2 separate regions of the Homo sapiens genome follow, and region 1 is linked to region 2. The links are contacts of gene promoters, found by promoter capture Hi-C in blood cells and fetal thymus (Javierre and others, 2016). All regions are on one chromosome and are shown on one strand. The core of a region is centred on a gene start or on the middle of the fragment in contact, and the rest is flanking DNA. Distances in the headings are between cores, read along the strand shown.

Region 1 (5,676 bases), core at 1,089-3,588, 670 kb before region 2:
TTTTTTATACCAAAAAAATTGAAAATTGTATTTCTACTAGATCATTCTATCACATAATCACGCCCCCTCTCTTTCAAGAGAAACCTCCTTTGAAGCATATTTCTTTCCAGCTTCAACCCTATCTAGCCAAATGACCTCTCTGTAAGGTCTGTCTGTAAGACAGAATTTCCAGCCAAACATCCAAAGAGAATGTCTCTAATTCTTCCTTTTCCTTCTTCGCCTCAGCTGTTCTCCTTAATCCACTCCACATTGACTTCTGTCCTTAGCACTCCACCTAATGCATTTTCCCAAGGATGCTTATGACCCCCAGGCTGCCAAATCCAGTGAGTCCTTCTCAGTTTTTAAGACCTGATATCCCAATGACACAGGACCCATTGGATCACTTTCTCCCTTTTCAAACACATTTTTCCTATGCCATGAGATATATCCAAGAGATATGTGCACACAATACACTCTTGGTCGTCTCTACAGCTCGATTCTCTTCCTCTTTTTAGTCCAATTTACGGTGTTTTCTATTCTAAATTTGACTCTAAATGTTGGGGTATCTCACATTCTATAAATGATATCATCCAGTCTCTGGGATTAAACCATTATGCTGTCTTTTCATCTAAATTATCAGCCGTGGCCTCTCCCTGGCACTCAAGTCTGATAAAACCTCTCCCCGTGGGAGTCCCATAGACTCCAAACCTCACATGGTTTTACCAAACTGTTGATGTTCTCTGCCTCCCAGACCTGCCACTCTTCCAATATTCTGTATCTATTTGGAGATTAAATATTCAGTTGTTAAAGCTCCAGATCTAGAACTCACCTTTCATTTCTCTTTTCCTCACCACCCAACGCCATCCACGTCTTACTCATTCTATCTACAGAACATGCTGAATGCACAGCCAGAGCCATTGCCATCTCCACGACCGGTGTCCATGGCCCTGTCAGGCTTGGATATTTGCACAAGCCTTGCAAATAGCTTTTTCCTGGTCCTGCTGCCCCCTCCCCTAAGATCCATTCTCCAGACAGAAACCAAATGAGCTTTAAAAAGGTCCAATAAGATGGTGATGTTATTCGCAATACCTTCCGATGGCTTCCAGACTTCTAAGTTACCCTTATCTTAGGTTCCCTTATCCTAGGTTCCCTTATCCACTGCCACATGTGCCCTGTGCATCCCTCAGACCTCATCTCTGCACTCTCATCAGACACACTGGGCTCCACCCACTGGGCTCTAATTCCTTGAACTTGCAGCTCTTTGTCATCTCAGGGCTTCTGCTTTCTCTATTCCTTCTGCCTACCGTGCTCTTCGTCTTGAGCTTCCTGCACCTGGCTCATCCTGAATATTCATATTTCAGGTCAAATATTATTTCAGAGAGATCCCACCTCACCCACTCTGCAAAGCAGAATGCTCAGGTACAGCCTATCTCACCAGATACTTTTCTCCTTTATTTGTTTGTTCATTTATCTTCTCTCTTAAATACCCTCCACACTAGTACGTAAGCTCCACAGGACTATCAAGATCCTTCAATGCTACATCTCTACAATGCTACATGTCCAGTAGAAATATAATGTGTTAACTTTAGCTACATATGGGACTCAAAATTTTTTTGTAGCCACTGTTTTTAAAAAAGTAAAACACCTTTGGGGAAATTATTTTAGTAATAAATTTTATTTAATTACATATATGATAAAGAATTGGCCAGTCACATTGGCTCACGCCTGTAATCCCAGCACTTTGGGAGGCCGAGGTGGGCAGATCACGAGGTCAGGAGTTGAAGACCAGCCTGGCCAACATATTGAAACCCCGTCTCTACTAAAAATACAAAAAATTAGCCAGGCGTGGTGGCAGGTGCCTGTAATCCCAGCTACTCAGGAGGCTGAGGCAGGAGAATCGCTTGAACCTGGGAGGCAGAGGTTGCAGTGGGCTGAGATTGTGCCACTGCACTCCAGCCTGGGTGACAGCGCAAGACTCCATCAAAAAAAAAAAAAAAAAAAAAAAAAAAAAGAATGTTACTGGAACATGTAACCAAATTAAACACTGTTAATGAAATAGTTAACATTGTTTTCATACTAACGAAGTGGATTCTTCACTGGACTACGCTACTCCAGAGTTAGAAGGGCTCTGTCATATAGCAGGCATTTCAACAATAACTTTAAAATTTTCAGACCCCAACTTACCACCAGCTTAGATCCTTTTCCTGTGCCCAGTTCCTGGATTCCTGTGGAGCAACTCAGGCTCTAAGTACTTGTAAAAAGATGAAGTTATATGTTTGGTTTTAAGATCTTAATTGGCTTTGGTTATAAAGATGGAATCAGACAGCCTGTCATGCTATAAAACAAAATGAGTGTTTTGATAGTTAGAGCCAAGGAAGTTGGTTTTACAGGGATAGGAGGGCTAAAGAAAGCAGAAACAGAGAACAAAAACCTGATTGGTCATCTGGATGTTGCATTTTTTTTGTGCAGCAGGAATAGAGAGACAGCAATAAGGAACAACTGATTGATTGAAGTCAAGTTACCACAGATTGCTTTTTTTTTTTTTTTGTAAAGATGAAAGCAGACAGAACTTCATGTTCATGCCCACTGAAACTGGCCTGTTTTAGGAATTTGTCCATTTTCTCTCTCTCCTGATTTCTCAAAAGTTCAGATACATTAGTTTTGGTTTGGTGATGTGGAGTTTTAGTATGACTGACTCCATTTGGTTTGCTTTGTCGAACCTAGTACAATAGGTCAGTCCAAACCACTTACTTGCTGTTTTTATAGAACAGGCTTCAGCAGAGACTTAGTTGAAGGACACGGGGACAATGGAGCTGGAATCAATCCAGTGACACAAACTCAGGGTTTCTTACCATTCCCAGAAGACACCTTGGAGATGTTCTCAGACGATTTATCTTGGAAACTTATGTGTCTGAATGTTCCTTCACCTCTAGCCTTCTGTGGGAGACTGGAGTTCATCCTTCCAAATATCAAAGGCCAAGAAATCTGAGAGTCCAGGCCCTTTCTTTTCAGAGATTCAGGAAAATGAAAGAAACAATTACCAAGGTGAGAAGAATGAGAGGAAAAACAATAAAAAAACAAAGATGCACGGTGAAACAAAAACTCGATTCTCTACTTTCACAATCCTTCTGACCAAATATACTTTTTCTCTACACCAAGAAATTCTCCAATTCTCTGGGGACACCACCTGGGCCACCTGCAATTAAAAATTCGGTTATGATGCTGTCTACCTGGATTCAGCTCAGATCCGAAAAGCTAAAGGGCTCACTCCCACAAACTGTTCTCAGATCAGATCAGACATCTGTTGCAAGTCCCAGGTGGCTACTTGTACTTCTGACTGACAGGCTATAAATTGGGTGTTCCAATGACACCAATAAATTGCTAGAATGGCACACAGAACTCAGGAAAGCACTTTGTTTGCATCTGTTGCTTTATATAAGGAATATACCTCAGGAATAGTCCATTGGAAAGAGGCATATGGCAGGTATATGGCAGGGAAGGGGTTGGGTGGTGCATGGAGCTTCCATGCTCTCTTCAGGCAGCCACTCTCCCAGCACTCCTGAGTGTTCACCAATGTGGAAGCTCATCAAATCTCATTGTTCAAGAGTTTTTATGGAACTCAATCTCCAGTCCCTGCCTCCCCTTCCTGGAGATCAGTAGGTGGGGCTGACAGCTCCAACCCTCTAATCCCTTGGTCTTTCTGGTGACCAGTCCCATCCTAAGGCCATGATCTCCTTAGCATAAACTCAGCTATGATCAAAAGGGGCTGTTTATGAATAACAAATAATACTCCTATCACTCAGGGAATTCCAAGGGTTTTAAGAGCCCTGTGCCAGAAATCTGTGACAAAATCAAATATGCTTTGAGGTATTTCATACCTCAGAGTTACAAAGAGAAGCAGTAACTAGGAGCATGTAGAGAGGTAAGGAAGGTAAATGAGAGACACTGTACACTCCACACCATTGCCGAGATTAACCCCCTAACCTTCTGCCCCTAGGGAGATGCTCTATGGACTACTGATCTAAGGAGATGGGCTCTTTCTGAGTTTTTAAACACCATCAGAATGTTGTTCTCAAGCCCAAGGAATAGAACCATGAAAAACAGTGGAGAGCCACAAAACAAGAGTCAACTATTTTCTATTTTCTCTCTGATTCACTGGATGTTTTCAGTGATAAGGTAGAGTAAACCAATGAAGCACATAAGCCATGGAGAAATTTATTATTAAAAAAAGTTTTGGAAGGGGATAGATCTGGAGTTTGAACAAAAATTGAGTTTAATGTCACCCTTCCACTCCATCATCATATTGGTTTTCTTCTAGGGCTTTCTTGAAAGTGACCACAGAATGGCTGCCACTGTTCTGGACATTGCATCAACAGGCCCTCCCGAGCCAGAATCATGAGACAGGCAGAAAATGTGACTCATTCACATGCCTCTTCCATTTTATTACAGAGGGAAACCTTGTCCAGAGTCTCTTCAGGACCTCTCCTTGTCTTTCATTGCCAGAGCATGCCATCTCTAGACCAATCAATGGCCAAGAAATAACAAAAATACCGATACATAAAAATAAAGGTCAGGGACAGTGGCTCACGCCTGTAATGCCAGAATTTGGGGAGGCCAAGACAGGAAGATTGCTTGAGCTCAGGAGTTCAAGACCAGCCTGGGCAACATAGTGAGACCCCATCTCTAAAACCAAAAAAATATTAGCTGGGTGTGGTGGTGTGGACCTGTAGTTCCAGCTACTCAGGAGGTGAAGTGGGAGGACTGCTTTGTCAGGGAAGTTGAGGCTGCAGTGAGCCATGATGATGCCACTGCCCTCGAGCCTGGGCAATGAGCAATACCTTACCTCAAAAAAAAAAAAAAAAAAAAAAAAGACAAGTTGCTCATATTGGCTTAGGCCAATCATGATTGCTTTCCTAGGACAGTGGCACATTGCTACCTGCCACCTGATTAAAATGGAATTTACTTATCAGTATAATAAAGGGTGGTGGGTATTGCATGAGGCCTCTGAAGAGGTGCTCCCTTGCTGGCTCCTGCAGACATAGAGCTTAAACAGACATGTGCCTTACCCTGGAGATGCCGACTACCCAGGTAAAGAGGTGACAGCGTCACTCTACTGTGACTAAGCATAGTCTTATGCACCCTTTGTGCACAATGGTGTCCTCTGCCATTTCCCTAAGCAGTCACAGTAGAGTGGGGGTATATAGTGATAGACAGATGCCTGGTTCATTATGAGATTTCCCAAAAGGAACAACTAACTGAGACTGACAGGGTCCAGGGTCACTTCCAAGTGCAATGCAGATAACATCCGGGATGAATCTTAAAGACTCAGATAAAGAAGCAAAAAAAAATACATTCCAGGCAGAGGAGAGTGAAAGCACGCAGGAAAGGGTCAAAAAATAGCAGGTTACCTGCGGTTATTGGAGCATAGATGGTGAGGCAGACAGCAATAAACACTGAGTGTGTAGCAAGTGGCAGAAGCCATCTGTTGGAGGGTCCTGAATGCTACAAGAAGGACTTGGAATTTCTTCATAATAACATGAATAACCATTTAAGCAGGACAGTGACTTGTCAGGTGTGTGCTTCTGAAAAATATTGTTCTGTAGTCCTGCAAAGGGATGCCTTTGAGAATGTTTCTAATTGGAGACAGAGATATTAGAATGGAGAATGTTGCCAGAAATCAAGGTAAGGTTCTTGAAG
Region 2 (5,372 bases), core at 644-3,143:
TTAGGAACTTAACCCACAGGCTTAGATATTCCTGTGGAAGTAGATACAAGATTGTTCTATCCTGCCGTAGGATGAAATTAGTGCCGTGATCTTCCATTAGGAGATGCCACAAAATCAGAGTCCATCCATGCAGTGGACTCACACACAGCCCTAGAGGAGGGTGCGGACAGTCTCACTACGGACGTCAAACCACCTCTGAGATCCTCCAGGTGTACAAACCGAGACTCAGGGCAGCCTGGATGGACAGTGGTTGGTTCTGGGGAGGGGGGCAGGCATCGGAGGAGAGCCTTTGCTCTGCAATTTGAATTTTTGCCCATGGACATTTATCACCTGTCCAGAAGTACTTAGATCAGAACTATCAGAAATAAACAGATAAGGGTGGAGATGTATTCAGGAGATACATGAGAAGGAGCCTCAAAGCCTGGTCCTGCTGTGTGAATGCCACCCTCTTCTTGTTTGAGGCTGAGGGGGGGGTGTGTGGGGGAGTCCAAGGGAGGTGATGGGAGGATGGGAACAAGTGGCCTTGGGGCCTAAGGATACAGAGGGGCCCTGAGTTCACCCACAAGGACATCCCTGTTTGCCAAAGTGAGTCCAGGTTGAGGAATAAGCCAGCCCCATCCTGACCTGAAGGCCCTGCTCCTCCAGCCCCAGGGAGGGAGCTCCATCCTACCTGTGCCGTCTCCTTGGAAGACAGTCATGGTCAAGTTCTGAGGCGGGTCTGGGACAGAAAGACATGGAGACCCGCATCACTGTGAGGGCTGGGGACACTGGCCCTGTCTGTCCCCAGGAGCCGCATAAACAGGGAAGGCAGAGCCAGTGTCCTCCTGACCCCACCACCAGCCCAGATTCCGGGACCCAGCACCCAGTGTCCAGGCTTGACGCTCACCCCATCAGGGACCCAGGCGTCCCGGCCCAGCACTCACAGGACACGTTGAGATGGACGGTCTTGTTCGTGGTCACGCTGGCCCCAGGGAAGGTCACCTGACAGGTGAGGCTGGTGCCATGGTCCTGGGGCTGTGGGATGAGGGTGAGCACCGAGGAGCGGGTGGTGGAGGGGTCCAGGGGGGACACGGAGGTCCCTATCCAGGAGATCATAGGGGGTGTCCCCTGCTCACAGGCCCAGGGCACAGAGCAGGTCAGATTCTGGGGGCAGCCGGACTCCAGGGTGCCTGGGATGAGGATGTTGGGCCTGTGGGTCAAGGCTGGTGAAGAGAGGGGGACTCAGGATCAGGTCAGAGGATCCATGGTGCAGCCCTGGGGGGAGCTCAGGCTCTGGTCCAGCTCCTGCCCTGAGCCAACTCGCTTCACCCTAAGCCCTCTCCTGGGGCAGGGGCTCCATCCCAGCCTTTCCCTGCCGCCCCCATGACCTTTCCCTGTGGCCTTTCCTGGAGCCTGTGCCTTACCTGTCACATTCACAGAGAGCCGGTGATGTTTATAATTCCATTTTATACTTCCTTTCTCCATACGAAAGAAGTATCTCCCCGCATCACTTCTTCTGGCATCTCTGATGCTCAGGGTGCAATTCTTGGTATGTGGGTCCCCAAGGAGGTGGAATCGGTCCCGAGTCTCCTCCCACACTGCCCGAGCTGGGTTGTTTGTGGCCACTGGAGCATCCTGGTCTGTATTGGCCCCTTCCCGGAACCAGTAGCCATGAACTACTGGGCCAGGGTAAATCCAGCCATGCGAGGGGTAGGAGAAGGAGCAGGGCACATGGACACACAGGCCTTCCTGCACCGTCACGGAACTCTGCATCGTCAGCAGTTTACTTGTCTGTCCTTCCGCCCTCTCCCTCCCCCAGAGCAGGGGCAGCAGCAGCAGCAGCATGTCTGGGGTTAGAGGTGCCAGGGCCGCGAGGGAACGTCTGTTCCTCAGGGTTCTTCTCTCAGGAACTGCGGGCTCAAGACTTAGAGGAGGCCCTACAGGAAGACAGGGGCGAGGTCGGAACAGTGACCTCCTCAGAGGAGGAACTTTACACCCAGACACTGTCAGGCCCGGGTCAGCCCTGGGAGATCCACCGTCCACCACCCCATGTTCACTCCTGGGTCCCTGAGGCCAGAGCGGGAGACAGACTCACCCAGATTCCCACCCCATGCAGGGCCCACCCCACCTCCTGCCTCCCTCTCAATGCCCTTCCCCTTAGGTGACATTTTCTGCAGGGTGAAAATGAGTCCCATCTGGCCAGACCCCTGAGTCAGAGGCTGTGGATATCTGCGTAGCTCAGAGGTGGGACTTGGGGCCATGAGAGATGGGGGTGCAGGTGGGGTGAGCAGGCAGCCTCTCATCCCCCCCAAGCAAGCACGAGGTGGGCACCCCCTTTCTGCACAACGAGGTCAACACAGCAGAGCTGGACACTGTCCCCAAGGGGTCACTGTGCGGAGGGGAGACATGGAGGCTCCTGACGTCTGAGCTGTCCACGGCAGGAGCTTCAGTTGGGGGGCACAGGCAGGATGGGGTCACTCTCCCGTAGGTCAGGGGTTCAATCTCAGGAGGACTGAGCAGAGGGACATGGGGCTGTGGAGGTGAGGATTCTATGTGTTGATACACGCCAAGGACACAGAGGGGAGCCTGGCTCGCAGGAGGTCTGGGAAACTGAGGCTGTGACTGTTGTACTGTGGGGCTTGGAAGGGAGGAAATTCGGAAGAAAAGGGGCAGATTTCAAAAGGGAAGATATTTCTCCTTTCCTCACTGCACCACGAAGGGTTTCTTCACCACCGATGTCTCGCTCAGCCACACTTCCCTGGTTACTCCAGAACATGAGGGATCAGCTGGCCCTGGGGCTTTGCTTCTGCAAGCTCTGCTCCCAGGGGTCCCGGTGAACAGGAGATGTGGAGTGAGGACACCAGCCCCGGGGCATGCACCCTCCGCGATGGGCAGGATTTCATGGGAGAAGAAACATGCACCTGAATTCAGCAGAAGATTTTTTGTAACTGTGTGGCTGGGCTGGGAGGAACTGGGAGTATCCTGTGTGGTGGAGCCTCCTTAGACCGATGTCAGTTTTCTAGAAATATTTTTGGGAGAAATATAAGCCATATAGATAAAAATGTCTTCCCCCCAAGAAAAAATCTCAGCGGTTTACACATATGAACATGCTTAGAGAAACAGAACACTGGGGATGCCGCAACACCTCCTCTTTGTTACCCCACTTCCTGTCAGCCACACCCCACTTCCTCCTGAAGCAGCCCCAGCCTCACTTTAACGCTAATGGTCTCCATGCTTTTCTAGGTAGTTTTATCATCTGTGCACGTTGCCGTGAATACCTCAGGCCCCCATGTTTGCCCAGTCGCTCCCTGGGAAGTTGCAGCATCTCAACTGCAATGGTCAGAAGGGCTGAGCCATGGCTGACAGTGTTGTCCTGCATCTGTTCTGCAGGGCTGGGTGTCCACATCTGAGTTCTGTCTTGAGCAGGAGGGGCTCAGTCAGGCCTCTCAGCACTGCTCCCCTGGGGCCCTCCACACCTGCAGAGCCAACACGGGCCTCAGATTAGCATCGGCCACTTCAATTCTAACTCAGGCGGGACAGGACAGCTCAGCCCCACCTGGAACTCGGGGAACAATCCTTCGGCTTCCCTAGAAAAGAGCAGGCCTGCTCACCTGGAGTAGTAGCTCCAGGTGAGGCCATGGGGGTTGGGGGGAAGCCAGTGCCCAGGATGGCCCCCTGATCAGGTGAGAACCAGGGGCCAGAAGCCCTCCTGCTTTTCACTCACACATCTGTAGCCAGAGGGGCTTCCTGGGAAAGGGTAGAAGCGTGTGAGATTCTGTTCCCAGGCCTCCACCCCTCTGACAGCCCAAACACCCGACTAGGCTGCCTGCCTCAGCAGCTGTCCTGCAACTCACTCTGCACAGAGGCTCAGGGAAATGTGCTGAAATCGCAGTGGGTGGTGAGCCCAACAGGTCAATGCTCCTCCGTCCCAGCCCCTATCTGAGGCAGCTCCAGGCCCCCGGGTGCTGAGAGCTGGGAGGAATTCAGTGTTCTTCCCTCTCAGGACCAGCTCAGCCGGGCGGGGTTGGGAGGTGGGGTGCTGTCAGCCACACAGACCACAGGGACTCTCCCTCCAGGACAGGCAGTGGTGTACCATTGTTCAGGGTCTTTGGGGCTGGACGAAAAAAACAGAGAAAGCAGGAAGAGTGGTGCTGAGAGGTCGGTTTCTCCCTTACCTCCCATTCGGAATGAGACAGAAGACACATGACTGTTTGACTCATGCTTTTTTTTTTTTTTTTTGAGATGGAGTCTTGCTCTGTCACCCAGGCTAGAGTACAGTGCCGTGATCTCAGCTCACTGCAAGCTCCGCCTCCCACGTTCAAGCGATTCTCCTGCCTCAGCCTCCTGAGTAGCTGGGATTACAGGCATGTGCCGCCACGCCAGGTTAATTTTTGTATTTTTAGTAGAGACGGGATTTCACCATGTTGGTCAGGCTGGTCTTGAACTCCTGACCTCGTGATCTGCCCACCTCAGCCTCCCAAAGTGCTGGCATTACAAGCGTGAGCCACCAAGCCTGGCCCGGCTCATGCTCTTATGTACACAAATCCCGGAGTCCACGCTAGCTGACAGACCCTGGAGGGAAGGAGGCTGAACTGAGATTGGAAGGGGGAGTGGGTCATATTGACGCAAGACAGACAGGCATCACAAGTGAAGGACGAGGGATGTGCAAAGGCTCTGAAACAGTCTGGCAGATGAAGAGACCTGCACATATATCTGGGGTCTTCCAAGGGGACATGGAGGTGTTGGGGCATGACCAGCTGAGGAGCTTAGACTGAGGGTGCCGAGGAGTCACAGGGGACTCTGGGCCAGGAAGGGGTGGGGCTGGTACTGGGTACAGGAAGGTCTTTCTGGGCTTGTGCTATCAGGGGCACAGCATGAAGGGAAGATGGGAGGCTGGGGAGGGGCATGGAACAATGATCAAGACAGCAAAGAGGCTGGGTGCGGCGGCTCAGATCTGTAACCCCAGCACTTTGGGAGGCCAAGGCGGTTGGATCACCTGAGGTCAAGGAGTTCGAGACCACCCTGACCAACATGGTGAAAAGTTGTTTCTACTAAAAGTACAAAAATTAGCCAGGCATGGTGGCATGCTCCTGTAATCCCAGCTACTCAGAAGGCTGAGGCAGGAGAATCACTTGAACCAAGGAGGCGGAGGTTGCAGTGAGCCGAGATCCTGCCACCGCACTCCAGCCTGGACGACAAGAGCGAAACTTCATCTTCAAAAAAAAAAAAAAAAAAAAGACAGCAAAGGGCCTGGTCATGCTGATGGAGGACAGGGGACTAAGCAAGGAGGGCATGACGGGAGACATTGTTCAGGAAGGGAAGTTACAGCACCCACTGGCTCATGAGTACAGTGGATGAAAAGGGTGACATTTGGAGGAAGTGCTGCATCCTGA

The links. The method cuts DNA at HindIII sites, captures the fragments that hold promoters and counts their contacts. A CHiCAGO score of 5 or more calls a contact.
Region 1: a contact is called between the fragment with the promoter of FPR3 here and the fragment with the promoter of SIGLEC9 in region 2, in 7 of 17 cell types (neutrophils, M2 macrophages, total B cells and 4 more). The highest score is 17.0, in neutrophils.

The regions. Positions count from the first base shown.
Region 1 is chr19:51,791,819-51,797,494 of GRCh38, reverse strand. FPR3 (formyl peptide receptor 3) reads right to left here and starts at 2,338. Exons shown (of 2, transcript NM_002030.5): 1 at 2,164-2,338. The HindIII fragment of the contact is 12,110 bases long and covers 1-5,676 here.
Region 2 is chr19:51,121,427-51,126,798 of GRCh38, reverse strand. SIGLEC9 (sialic acid binding Ig like lectin 9) reads right to left here and starts at 1,893. Exons shown (of 7, transcript NM_014441.3): 1 at 1,404-1,893; 2 at 924-1,202; 3 at 671-718. The coding sequence starts at 1,824. The HindIII fragment of the contact is 17,590 bases long and covers 1-5,372 here.